Regions from separate parts of the Homo sapiens genome. Here regions 1 and 2 are each linked to region 3. The links are contacts of gene promoters, found by promoter capture Hi-C in blood cells and fetal thymus (Javierre and others, 2016). All regions are on one chromosome and are shown on one strand. The core of a region is centred on a gene start or on the middle of the fragment in contact, and the rest is flanking DNA. Distances in the headings are between cores, read along the strand shown.

Region 1 (4,000 bases), core at 527-3,026, 2.1 Mb before region 3:
ATCACACGACTTGTATGTGAGATATAAAACACAGTAAGTATTGAGGATTTAAGTTTATCATATCGTAAACCGCCTGCGCCAGAAATAAAAGTATCTCAAAATACACACAAATAATCTTAAAATTCTAGGATAATTTAGGGTGACACAAATACTGGAACCTCTAGTTGGAATATGTGCAAAAGCCTATTCCACCTATCAGGAAGTAAATACGGAGTTGAAATTAAGTTAGAACCCTTCCACTTTTATTATTGTCTTTGGTCATTAAAGTGACAGTCAAACACAAATACCATGGTACATTTTATAAATCAACTGTTTTAGCGAATTGTATTACAAAATTAGATAGTCTGAAAGTCTGTGGAAATATCACAAACAGAATACAAATCCAAAACCCACATAAACTGTTCATAAGTGAGCATTTTTTCAACAATCAACTTTTTGTAAATTGATCCCTTCATCTAATTCACCTCTGCCAACTAGGCCTTTACGCCCAGAAGTAGTTGATTTGCAATATATCTTCTATAAGCTGAAATACCATCTTGCAAGGGTCGAGAATAAAATAAAAAGGCCAGAAAAGATCAACGTACCCTTTTTAATAATAAAAAGTAAAGTACCAGGTAAAAGGCCTTTCCTTCCAAGAGAGATAGGCCATAACTATCCCGGGATGGTATGTGTAGTACAGTGCTCTGCTTAACAGAATGTACCATTAAAGCGGTGAATGCTACACTAAGAAACATCATTAACAAATTTATTTTAAAAATAGGTATGAAGGTTCCAATCATCACTATCACAGTTCGTTTTCAGCTATTTAAGGTCTGGCTGAAGTGTTTAAGACACCCACAAACCCGCAAGGGAGGGAAAAACCACCACCCTGCTCCCGGGAGTTTAATGAAAATTAGCAGGTAAGAGAGGCCTCGGCAGCACGCTGGAAATCAAAGAGGGCGGCCGGAGGATTTGGACTGCGGAGGAAAGCCTCGTCCTCCGACCCCACCTCCCCGCACCTTCCCGGCAGGGCGAAGGAGGCGAAGGCGGCGAGGGGTTCATTACTGCCTTCATTAATTGACACCTGTAATGAGGAAACTTTCCGAGAGCCCAGAGCGCCCGGGCCAGGCCGAGCCGGAGCTCCGCGGCGGCCGCCTCTCGGGCGCCCAGGTAACCCGGCCGGGCTGGGCCCGAGGCGCCGCGGCGGCCGCGCCACCGCGCACCTTCCCGGGGCGCTAGGCCCGCACGCCGCCCGGCCCGGCCGTCGCCTCCCGCAGGCCGCGGCAGCCCGGGGAGGCCAGAGAGCTGCGCGAGGACCCCAAACCGTGCACCCCGACAGGCCGCTACCGCGGCTACTTACTTTCATTTAACACCTCCACCAGGTCTGCGCAGTTCTCGCACATCGTTCGGCCGCCGCCCCCCCCCTCCCCCGCTTCGGATCACACTGACTGATCCCGACCGGCGGGGGGGAGGGGAGAGAGGCGGAGGAGGGGGCCGGCCGGCCGGCGGGGCGGGGAGGCGACTAGGGCGGGCGGCGGCGGGGACGGGGCGGGGAGCAAGAGAATGGGGGAGGGGGCCGGCGGTCCCCGCAGCGGGAGGGGGAGAGGAGGGGAGCGAGGGGAGGTGCGCAGGCCGGAGGGGCGCCGAGGCGCCGGCGGCGGGGAAGGGGGGGAAGGACGGGGGGAGGGGAGAGGGGGGGAGGGGGCGGGTGGGGAGAGAAGCAGCAGAGTCACTTCACCGACCAGACGCCGCGGCCACCGCCGACGCCGCCGCCATTTTAACAGAGCGCTCGGGCTGCGCTCGGCTCTTTCCGCCCGGGCTTAGGAGCGGACGAGAGGCGCCTCGCGCTCTCATTCCTCCGCCTCCCTCCCTTTCTCGCCTCTCCTCCGCCCCCCACCTCTCCCTCCGCACACACGCCGCACGCTCCACACCCCGCCGTGGCCGGCTCGCCGCCCTCCCTTTCCTCTTCCGTCCGGCCTCCCCGCCCTCGGTCCACCCCCTCCGCGCGCTCGCCCACCCCGCCCAGCCCGGATCTCTGTCAGCGGCCGGAAGGGAAACGCGAAGCCAGCGCGGCCGCGGGGGGAGTCCGGGTGAGTAGGAGAAGATGGCGGAGGCAACGGACGGGTCGCGGTTGCGTGGCGTCGCCCACCACGACCCACTCCACGGGCTCTGAGGCCCGGGGAGCGCCAGGTCACTCGCTCCGTCCTGTCCCCCGCCCCTGGGCTTCGCCATTTTTCCCCAGGGCCTGGGTCGGGGAGTTGGTGCGGGTTTCTTTGGTGTCCCCGGCCTCTTCCGCGCTTAGGCTTTTGGGGTACGGGAAGCAAGGAGTCAACTTGGGTGCCGGGCCGGGTCTACGCCGTAGCCCTCTTTCGGGCGCAAGGGCCACTCCCCCCGGGGTCTGAGAGTGAATCAGCCCAGGGCCCGGCTTAACTGCATCGGTGATTATCGCTACCCTGCAGTTCCTTGAAGGTCCTCCGTCCTGGAGCAGTAAGATCCTTGACGTAACTAGAAATGGCAGGGTAAGGAGTGTTTGCCTGACATCGTCTCGTTTTTACGGAAGAGGGCCCCTCACGATGTGCCCATCAGCCCCACCTGAAATAGCAAGAAATCTTCTTCAGCAGAGAGCGAATAACAAGGATATTAAGATAAAGAACAGGTGAAGGGGGCAGTCAGCTGAAGCTTGTAAGGGAATTTTCCTCACGCCGGCACTTACCCCTTGCTTGCTAATTTTTGTGTTCAACGTGTTTACATAGACATGTGACTGCAAAGTCCGAAAGATCGTGTACAGAATCTCTGAACGGTAACCAGAGTGTCTGTCAAGGCTCTGTAGTCATTCTCTCGATAGCTTTTGTGGAGGTTATGGCACGCCCATCTCTCCATGCCAGAACCACCTGGTTCCAAATGCTTTGCCTTTCTGCTGCTTGAAGTTGATACTATAAACAGTCTGCCCAACCCGTTTTGTTTCCCACTAGCAGGTGATCCTTAGGATTGTAGTTCTATTCTACCATCATCTTCCCTTCTTCCTTGTCTTTCTCACAGAATTGGGTTTTTGCAGACTTACTTTGGATCCTGAGGCAGACATTCGTTGTCCACTCAACATACATTCCCACGTATCCCTTTTTTCCCTGCCAACACAACCCCAATTATTTTTATTTGAATTTTTTTTTTTTGAGACAAAGTCTCACTCTGTCGCCAAGGTTAGAGTGCAGTGGTGCGATCACAGTTCACTACAGCCTCCACTTTATGGGCTCAAGGGATCCTCCCACTTCCCTAGTAGCTGGGGCTACAGGCGCTCTCCACCACACGTAACTAATTGTTTTTTATTTTTAGTAGGGACAGGGTCTTGCTATGTTACCCAGGCTGGTCTCAAACTCCTGGCCTCAACTGATCCTCCGGCCCAAAATGTTAGGATTACAGGTATGAGCCAACGTGCTGGTCTCACGTTTTTTCAGGTAGCAGTTGAAACCAACCATCATGGTGATCTGGCTTTTCTAGGGCTGGCCATACATAATTGAGTTCCTCCTGATAAAAGGTAAGCAACAATCCTGAGAAACATAGTGGGAGCCCTGTGTCTACAAAAATTTAAAAGGTGGCTGGGCGCGTTGGCTCACTCCTGAAATCCCGCACTTAGGGAGGCTGAGGTGAGCAAATCACCTGAGGTCGGGAGCTCTAGACCGGCCTGACCAACATGGACAAAGCTCATCTCTGCTAAAAATACAAAATTAGGCATGGTGGTGCATGCCTGTAATCCCAGCTACTCAGGAGGCTGAGGCAGGAGAATCGCTTGAACCCGGGAGGCAGGGGTTGCGGTGAGCCGAGATCGCGCCATTGCACTCCAGCCTGGGATAAGAGTGAAACTCCGTCTCATAAAAAAAAAAAAAAAAAAAGGCCAGGCATGGTGGTTCATGCCTGTAATCCCAGCGCTTTGGGAGGCCGAGGCGAGAAGATCACTAAATCAGGAGATTGAGACCATCCTGGCTAACACGGTGAAACCCCGTCTCTACTAAAAATACAAAAAATT
Region 2 (3,800 bases), core at 1,100-3,599, 2.8 Mb before region 3:
AAATACAGTTACAATATACACTGCAAATAAGAAAAATGTCCTTATTGAAATTGGGGTTGGGAAAAATACAGTATCCTTATTGAGATGGGGGTTAGGGACTGTCATTAAATCCCAGGTAGATTAACAAAGACAGGAAAATGGGAAGAAAAGCAATTGATTAAAACACCGTGGCCGGGCATGGTGGCTCACGCCTGTAATCCCAGCACTTTGGGAGGCTGAGGCTGGCGGATCACGAGGTCAGGAGTTCAAGACTAGCCTGACCAATATGGTGAAACCCTGTCTGTACTAAAAATACAAAAATTAGGCTGGAAGCGGTGGCTCACGCCTGTAATCCCAGCACTTTGGGAGGCTGAGATGTGCGGCCAACATGGTGAAAGTCCATCTCTAAAATACAAAAAATTAGCCAGGCGTGGTGGCGCACGCCTGTAGTCCCAGCTACTCGGGAGGCTGAGACAGGAGAATCATTTGAACCCAGGAGGCAGAGGATGCAGTGAGCCAAGATCATGCCACTGTGCTGCAGCCTAGGTGACAGAGCAAGACTCCATCTCAAAAATAAATAAATAAATAAATAATAAAACACTGCTTGGCTGGGTGTGGTGGCTCACATCTGTAATCCTAGCACTTTGGGAAGCCGAGGTGGGCGGATTACCTGATGTCAGGAGTTTGAGACTAGCTGGCCCACATGGTGAAACCCCGTCTGTACTAAAAATACAAAAATATAGCTGGACGTGGTGGTGCATGCCTGTAATCCCACCTACTCAGGAGGCTGAGCAGAGATCACGCCACTGCACCCCAGCCTGGGCAACAGAGCGAGACTCCATCTCAAAAAAACCTCTGCCTCTCGGGTTCACGCAATTCTCCTGCCTCACCCTGCTGAGTAGCCGGGATCACAGGCGCACCACGCACCCAGCTAGTTTTTCTATTTTTAGTAGAGATGGGGTTTCACCATGTTGGCCAGGCTGGTCTCGAACTCCTGACCTCAAGTGATCCACCCGCCTCAGCCTCCCAAAATGTTAGGATTACAGGTGTGATCCACCACACCAGGCCACGTCAGGTTTTTGTTGTTGCTTTTAAGTAGAGATGGGTTTTTGCCATGTTGGCCAGGCTGGTCTTAATAGAACTCATGGCCTCAAGTGATCCACCAGCCTTGGCGTCACAAAGCACTGGGATTGCAGGCAAGAGCCACTGCACCTTGCTCAGGTTTTCAAAAATATGTTTTGTAGTTTTTATTTATTTATTTATTTATTTATTTTTTTGAGACAGGGTCTCCTTCTATCACTCTGGCTGGAATGCAGTGGTGCCATCCTGGTTTCCTGCAGCCTCCACGTCCTGGACTCAAAGAGATCCTCCCACCCCAGCCTCCTGAGTAGCTGGGACTACAGGCATGGGCCACCATGCCCAGCTAATTTTTTTAAAACTTTTTGTAGTGACAGGGTCTCACTATGTTGCCCAGGCTGTTCTCGAACTCCTGGCCTCAAGCAATTCTCCCACCTTGGCCTCCCAAAGTGCTGGGATTACAGGTGTGAGCCACTGTATCTTGCCTCAATAAATATTTTTTAATGAATTAATCAGCAAGTAATCTCCTCTATTTACTGTGACTCTGAGTTATGTTCAAGAGCAAGCAGTTCTTGACTTCCTTTTCTTTGTAATGATTTAGTGCTTGAAATTACTTCTACCTTTCAGCATTTTAAAATTGGTTATTATTTTCTCATTTTCATCCCCACACTCACATCGAACATGATTTCCACTATTTAAAAGTGTAAGATTTTTGTTTCAGCCTGGGATTTATCCTATTGCAAACTGCTAGCTACTATTTTCAACCTCTGTCAGCTAAATGCCAGAATGTCACTAATCAAAGGTGGTACTTAGGGGTGAAGTGAACAGTTAAGCCTCCAATTTACAAGCTTGTTTTTCCCTGGGATACTTGTGTGAAAGTCGTATGTTCCTGGGTGTGACCCTTTCGAGACAAAATCTCAACTGGTGAGTTAATTATGTATAACTATAATTAAATCAAAGATGTAGGATAACGGAGGCGTTGAAATAGTTTTTGCTAGGCAAGGGTGTGACCTTTTTAAAAAATGTATGATATATGCTGCCATTCGAGAGGCAAGGAAAACATATCTCCAAATTTCCTTCCAAGCGGTCTACCGGCATTGACAGTACCGCGGACAAAGGAGAGTACCAAATAAATACTCCTTCGAACCAACGGTATACTGAGAGCCCTGAGCTTGTGGGCGGGGCCCCGGAGCCTCCCGGGACCTAAAGGCAGAGGGGGCGTGGCTGAGGGTGGTCCAGACCTCCAGGGGCGGGGCTGAGACCTGCGAGAGGCAGGCTGGGAAGCGGCGCCATATTGGCGTCGGCCGCGCTGTATTGTCATAAATAGAGCCGGTTTTGTGGTGTTTTCACTACTCGGTTGGATGCCTCAGCCATAGTAAGTGGGAAAGTGAGCGAGCAAGCGAGCTACTAGCGACCGGAGGAAAGTGAACAGGGGGAGAAGGGAACAGCAAGAACAGGACTCCAGAGCGATAAACACTCGCTGGAGAGGGAGACGCAGGAAGCGATGAAAGAGATGTCTGCGTAAGTGGTGGGGGGCGGCGGTTGGGGTGAGGCGGGTAGGGGTGAGCTGAGGTGGTCCGACTGTGTCCTTGTTTCCGTTCCCTGTCCCTTGCGCCCTGCACGCAGCTCGCCGGGATGGTCTCCTTCCCGGCTCCCGGCCGGTCCGCAAGGGCACCTCCCCTAAACCCGGCGGCTCACCTGGCCACCCCTGCACGGACTCGGGGACTCCGGGAGTCCCCAGCTGTCCCGCCTCCGAGGACGCCCTCAGAAAAGGATGAGGAGGGAAAGAGGTGCCTGTGTCCGTAGGGAGAAATTGTCGGTCACTCGCCTGCCCCCAGCACTGTCTGAGCCCGTCTGCTCCTGTCTGCATTGGCGCAAATACCATCCCCCTGCCTCCCCCTCCTCCCTTCCCGACCGGCTGTCTCCAGGTCTTCAGGAGTGAAAGACCTATCGCAGCCCAAGGGTTTCTCTTTCATATGAGGCTACAGTCTTTTCACCGCCGTCCCCACCCTCTCCCTCACCCCCTGCTTCCCCACCTACCCACAACATCTACCGGTCTGTACCTCTTGTTCACACTTTGATAAGTCAGAAACAGTTCCCGTACTTGGCAAGATTTTGTTGTAGCTTCTTCCATTTTGGTCTATTAGGAAATAATTTAAACATGCAGAAAAATGTAGAGAATAACATAAGCATCATTTGTGGAGCCACCACCCATTTCTCCCAAAACGTAACTGTACACACATACACGTACATGCACACACGCACACACACGGTGTGTATATACGTATCTGTGTATTTATTTTAAAAAGAAATCAAGCATTCCAGATACATCTGAAGGACTCTCCTACCTCCTTCTCTGGTCCCAATCATCTCTTGCTCCAGATGTCTCCACAGTCTTGAATTTGATGTTTATCGTTGCTGCCTGTTTTTTATTTTACTTCTTTTTTTTCCGCCCTCGAATCATGGGAGCTGCATGTTTTTTAATGCTATTACTACATACACATGTGTTCATAATAACTGGCATAGTTCTAGTTGTTTTTAAACTTTATATAACTCGTATCACACTTGGAATTCTGTAACTTCTTTAGCACAACATAGTATCTCTGAGCTTTGTTCATGTTAGTATTTTAGTTGTAATTAATTAATATTAATTATTGTATTGTATTCTATTGTAGGAAAACACCCTAATTTAATTCTTTTCCTGTTAGTGACTATTTTATTTCTAAGTTTTTAATGTTACAATG
Region 3 (3,851 bases), core at 156-2,655:
AGGAGGATAATGGAAGAAATTTTTCGTAACTGCTCAGAGTAAAAAGTAAAACTCAGAGAACCTAGGTTTGAGAATAATGCACACCTACTAATTCAGGACTAGACACATAAATTTGAGAGTTTTTGACATTAAAAGTAGCATTTGAAGTGATGCAACTTATGAATTAGCTCACTGAGGGATTTAGTATAGACAGAGAATACAGGCACCCCAATGTTAAGAGATCACAACTAAAAAAAATTTAGAAACTCCGCAGAACTGAGAACCAGTAACAAAAGAGGAAAACCAGGAAAGTATGTTGTCTGAGAGCCAAATGAATAAAGAGATACAAGGAGAGTCATTCAGGTATGATATTAATAAATGCTAAAAGTAAAGCATTACATTTCTTTCCAAAAATAGCAAATCCTCCAAACTGAAATAGAGAAAAATTGAAAGATATTACTTGGCATTCATTTATCAGTGACAGAGAAAAAACGGAAGTTCTAACAATGTTATCTAATAGAGATGTTTTATTCATTTTCATTACGTATATGCTGTGTATGCTACTCCCGAGCATCATATCTTCCTTTTAACATCCACAAGAAACAAGCTTTCAAAAAGCACAGCAATTCTCTTGGCAGCATTAATTTTAAAGAGAACCTCTTAAGTTGTTTTACCAGCTGAGACTGACTGACTAAACAACCAGTGTCTCCCCTTCAGTCGCCAGTCTTTCCTTAGAAATGCCTGTTTGGCATAACTTTAAGACTCAAGATGGTTTAAGGCGCATCCTGTTTCTTCCAAAAGGGAATGGACAAAACTCAACATTCACGGAGGGCTTAGAGCAAATTAGAACCGTATACTGTGACCTCCTGGAAGGGAGAGGCTCACCTCCTACAAAGTAAATGCTCAATAAATATTTTTGATATAACTCTGGAAGAGCTCCATTTGGGGTCGGGGGTGCACCTACTCCAGGGCACCACCCCCTCCAAAATAGCTGCATTCCCACAGCCCTCATACTCCGCTCAGAAAAGGGACCGGCGAGCTTGCAGGCATCCGCACAGCGGATAAAAGCAAAGCGGGACGGCGCACCAACCGCATTCCGGATCCTAAGGTTAAAAGAAAACCCCTTGCCCTCGGGCCAGGGCTCACCTGTCTCGGGAGTGGGGAAGAAGCGCGACTCCCGGCCGCTTTGGAGTAGGCGTCCCAGCAAAACTCTCGCCTCATCACCAGACACTACCCCGGGCAGAAGGTTCCTAGGCTAGGTCCTCGGACCCGAGAGGGAGCGACACGCTCGCTTGGTCTCTTGGGTCTCCAGGACGCCGCCGCCGCCGCCACAGTTTCCTCAGGTGCTACAAAGCAGCCAGGGTGTGCGTGCGCTCCCGCCTCGTCGCTTAGCAACCTGAGAAGCTGTCCGGTCGTCCCAACTTATCAATTCCCCCGCCCCTCCAGAGTGTCAATCGTTTTTTAAAAGATTTTGTTTCCGGGTCGATCCAGCTTTACGCAGCGGAAGGTCTCTTTACCTCCCACGTTTACCCTCATGGGAGGATGCAGTCTCAGTCACGCGCGTGGGGGTGATGTCGCTAAGGGGTGATTCTCCCCTCCCTAGAGTTACACACGCTATCTCTCCCGCCAATTGCCGGGCTCCATCAGGCAGGTCCTTTCCTCCTGAGCCCAAACCATCCGTTTGTTGTCGTCCTCCAATCACAGGGGCTCATCCTCAGGGACTACTTTGCAATCGGCGCAGAGCGCAGTGAGAAGAGCTTGAAAAAAACCTCTGGTATCGGGAAGTGTAGTTCAACACTTGAAGGAAATGCTTTGGAGATTGCGCCACAACCAGGGCAGCGTAAACTACAGTTCCCAGAGAGCGCCGCGTCGGGAGCGGAGCCTTTTCTCGCTAACACCGCTCGCCCTCTCCGAGTCAGTTCCGCGGTAGAGGTGACCTGACTCTCTGAGGCTCATTTTGCAGTTGTTGAAATTGTCCCCGCAGTTTTCAATCATGGTGAGTGTGGGCCCCGGGTTCCTGCCCACCTCTGGCCCTCGCGCCCTTGAGTGGGGTTTCTTGCACTTTAGGGACTTTTGGGAGGCAGCTGTGCAAGGCACTGTCCTTCGCGCCCTTTGGCAAGCTCGGACTCATCTTCTGGGGATTGCCGCAGTGACCCAGTAATGGGAAGGGATTGATTTCCACCTTGCGGGGTATGGGGCGCTCTTAGGAGGACTCTGGAGAAGTAGTTGTCCTGGGAGAGGAGCGATCTTAATCCTGCTGCATGACGGGAGGACAAAATGCGACGCTGCAGCTATTTTCCAAAGGACGTTACGGTGTTTGATAAGGACGATAAGGTTTGCGATGGGAGGGAAAGGTTGGGTCCTAACCCCTTTTTCTCCTCATTTGCCCACAGTGTTTATAACGGCTTTTGTCACAGGGACCTTGAAAGCAAAAAGCTGGAAAGGTAGTATTTACCAGGTGCTCCAGATTACGATCTGCGTTTGCAGCAGACGTGTTTCCGCCATATCTAATTTCTCAAAATGTTATTTGGAACCCGTTCATTGACCTTTTTTGTAATGCCAGGATATATTGAAGTGACAGCATCACTAACTAAATAACTACTGCAAATATTCTTTATTGAACTGTATATTGTGAATTCCAGAAGCACCTCTCTTAAATGTAACAGAGTAACCATTTTGTCATGGAAGACCTGGGTAACCTGCATCTCCATCGCTTGTCTCTGCTGAAAGAGAGGGGGAGGGGGAGAGTTGGTGAAGGAACTCTGGCGTAGGAATAATCTGCGTACTGCTTGAAGGTGACATTTGTCATCAAACTCAGAGAAATCGCTTCATACTATCAATACAATGGCTTGTATTTATAGTTGCGACTGTTTTTCCTACTTTATCTGCAAAATACTAAAACGGCTGGAGAATGTGGAGAAATGTTTGAATGAATTGGAAATTTCCCAGAACCTGAAAAGACACGTTTTCAAGGCAAGGGCATTACTCTCTCTGCCTGTCTAACGGGGCCAGTGGAGACAGCTACTAATTTCCAGTAGGTGTTAAACCTAGGTTTCCTAAATGTTTTGTCACATAATTAGTCATTTAAATTATGGTTTCGGTAGTTTCTGTCCTAATAACCTTAGCTAGAAAGCAGAGGTACTTATTATCTGATAACCTTGGACTTTTTGCTTTTAGAACTGAATGGGATCTTTTAAAGGTCATCTTGACGAATCTCCCCACTTCAGATCTTAAAATGGAGTTTATCGAGACCCAAAGAGAATGTGATTTGCTCCAAGAGTCTCACACTCTTGCCATTTTTCTATATTGTGTCTTACACTTACCAAGTCTTTCTGAATTTTTATTTTTATAGGGACCACCGCAGTGAGGTCTCGCAGCGGGGGAGAGACAGTGTACTCAACTCCCTGAAAACTTATTTTTACTAGCTGAGATTCCGGATGAAGTTACCAGTTCATACTGCATATACAAACTCAAATATGTTATCAGCATGTAGATTACTTGATAGCTTTATTCCTTGCCATTCAAAATACTGGAATTGTAGAATTAAAAGGGAATTTGGAGATTATATTATCTACTCTTATAATGTAGTCTGGTGAGGTCAGATAATTTTCCCAAGGTCACAGAGATTTTGGGCCCCAGATTCTTAGCTAGTTTCCCTAGCAAGGCCCCACCGTTGGAAGGTCACTGGGGTGCCAGATAACACAGAGACAGAACATGAGGAAGAATTTGTCTGGCAGTTTGCTGGAACTGACAGCAAACTCACACATGACTCAATTTCCCTGCCCCCTCAGGAGGGTGTGTGAATGGACAGAGTTAGAAAAGAGCCTTCTTCTGTAAGCTCATTCAAAGCGGAGGATTCTTTGCTTGTTGTC

Evidence for each region. Contacts are between HindIII fragments. The CHiCAGO score rates a contact against its expected background, and 5 or more counts as called.
Region 1: the fragment with the promoter of USP34 here is called in contact with the fragment with the promoter of WDPCP in region 3 in 1 of 17 cell types (monocytes); the score reaches 5.3 in monocytes.
Region 2: a contact is called between the fragment with the promoter of PAPOLG here and the fragment with the promoter of WDPCP in region 3, in 2 of 17 cell types (total CD4 T cells and naive CD4 T cells). The highest score is 6.5, in total CD4 T cells.

What each region holds. Positions count from the first base shown.
Region 1 is chr2:61,469,311-61,473,310 of GRCh38, forward strand. USP34 (ubiquitin specific peptidase 34) reads right to left here and starts at 1,777. Exons shown (of 80, transcript NM_014709.4): 1 at 1,340-1,777. The coding sequence starts at 1,382. It overlaps USP34-DT (USP34 divergent transcript), which reads left to right and starts at 1,786. Exons shown (of 3, transcript NR_185882.1): 1 at 1,786-2,069. RefSeq lists silencers at 1,099-1,518, 1,609-1,688, 1,719-2,028. The HindIII fragment of the contact is 6,929 bases long and covers 1-2,656 here.
Region 2 is chr2:60,753,919-60,757,718 of GRCh38, forward strand. PAPOLG (poly(A) polymerase gamma) reads left to right here and starts at 2,350. Exons shown (of 22, transcript NM_022894.4): 1 at 2,350-2,577. The coding sequence starts at 2,561. RefSeq lists an enhancer at 2,266-2,575. The HindIII fragment of the contact is 3,911 bases long and covers 1,903-3,800 here.
Region 3 is chr2:63,587,072-63,590,922 of GRCh38, forward strand. WDPCP (WD repeat containing planar cell polarity effector) reads right to left here and starts at 1,406. Exons shown (of 18, transcript NM_015910.7): 1 at 1,126-1,406. The coding sequence starts at 1,200. It overlaps MDH1 (malate dehydrogenase 1), which reads left to right and starts at 1,892. Exons shown (of 9, transcript NM_005917.4): 1 at 1,892-1,975. The coding sequence starts at 1,973. RefSeq lists enhancers at 571-1,091, 1,603-1,922. The HindIII fragment of the contact is 5,833 bases long and covers 585-3,851 here.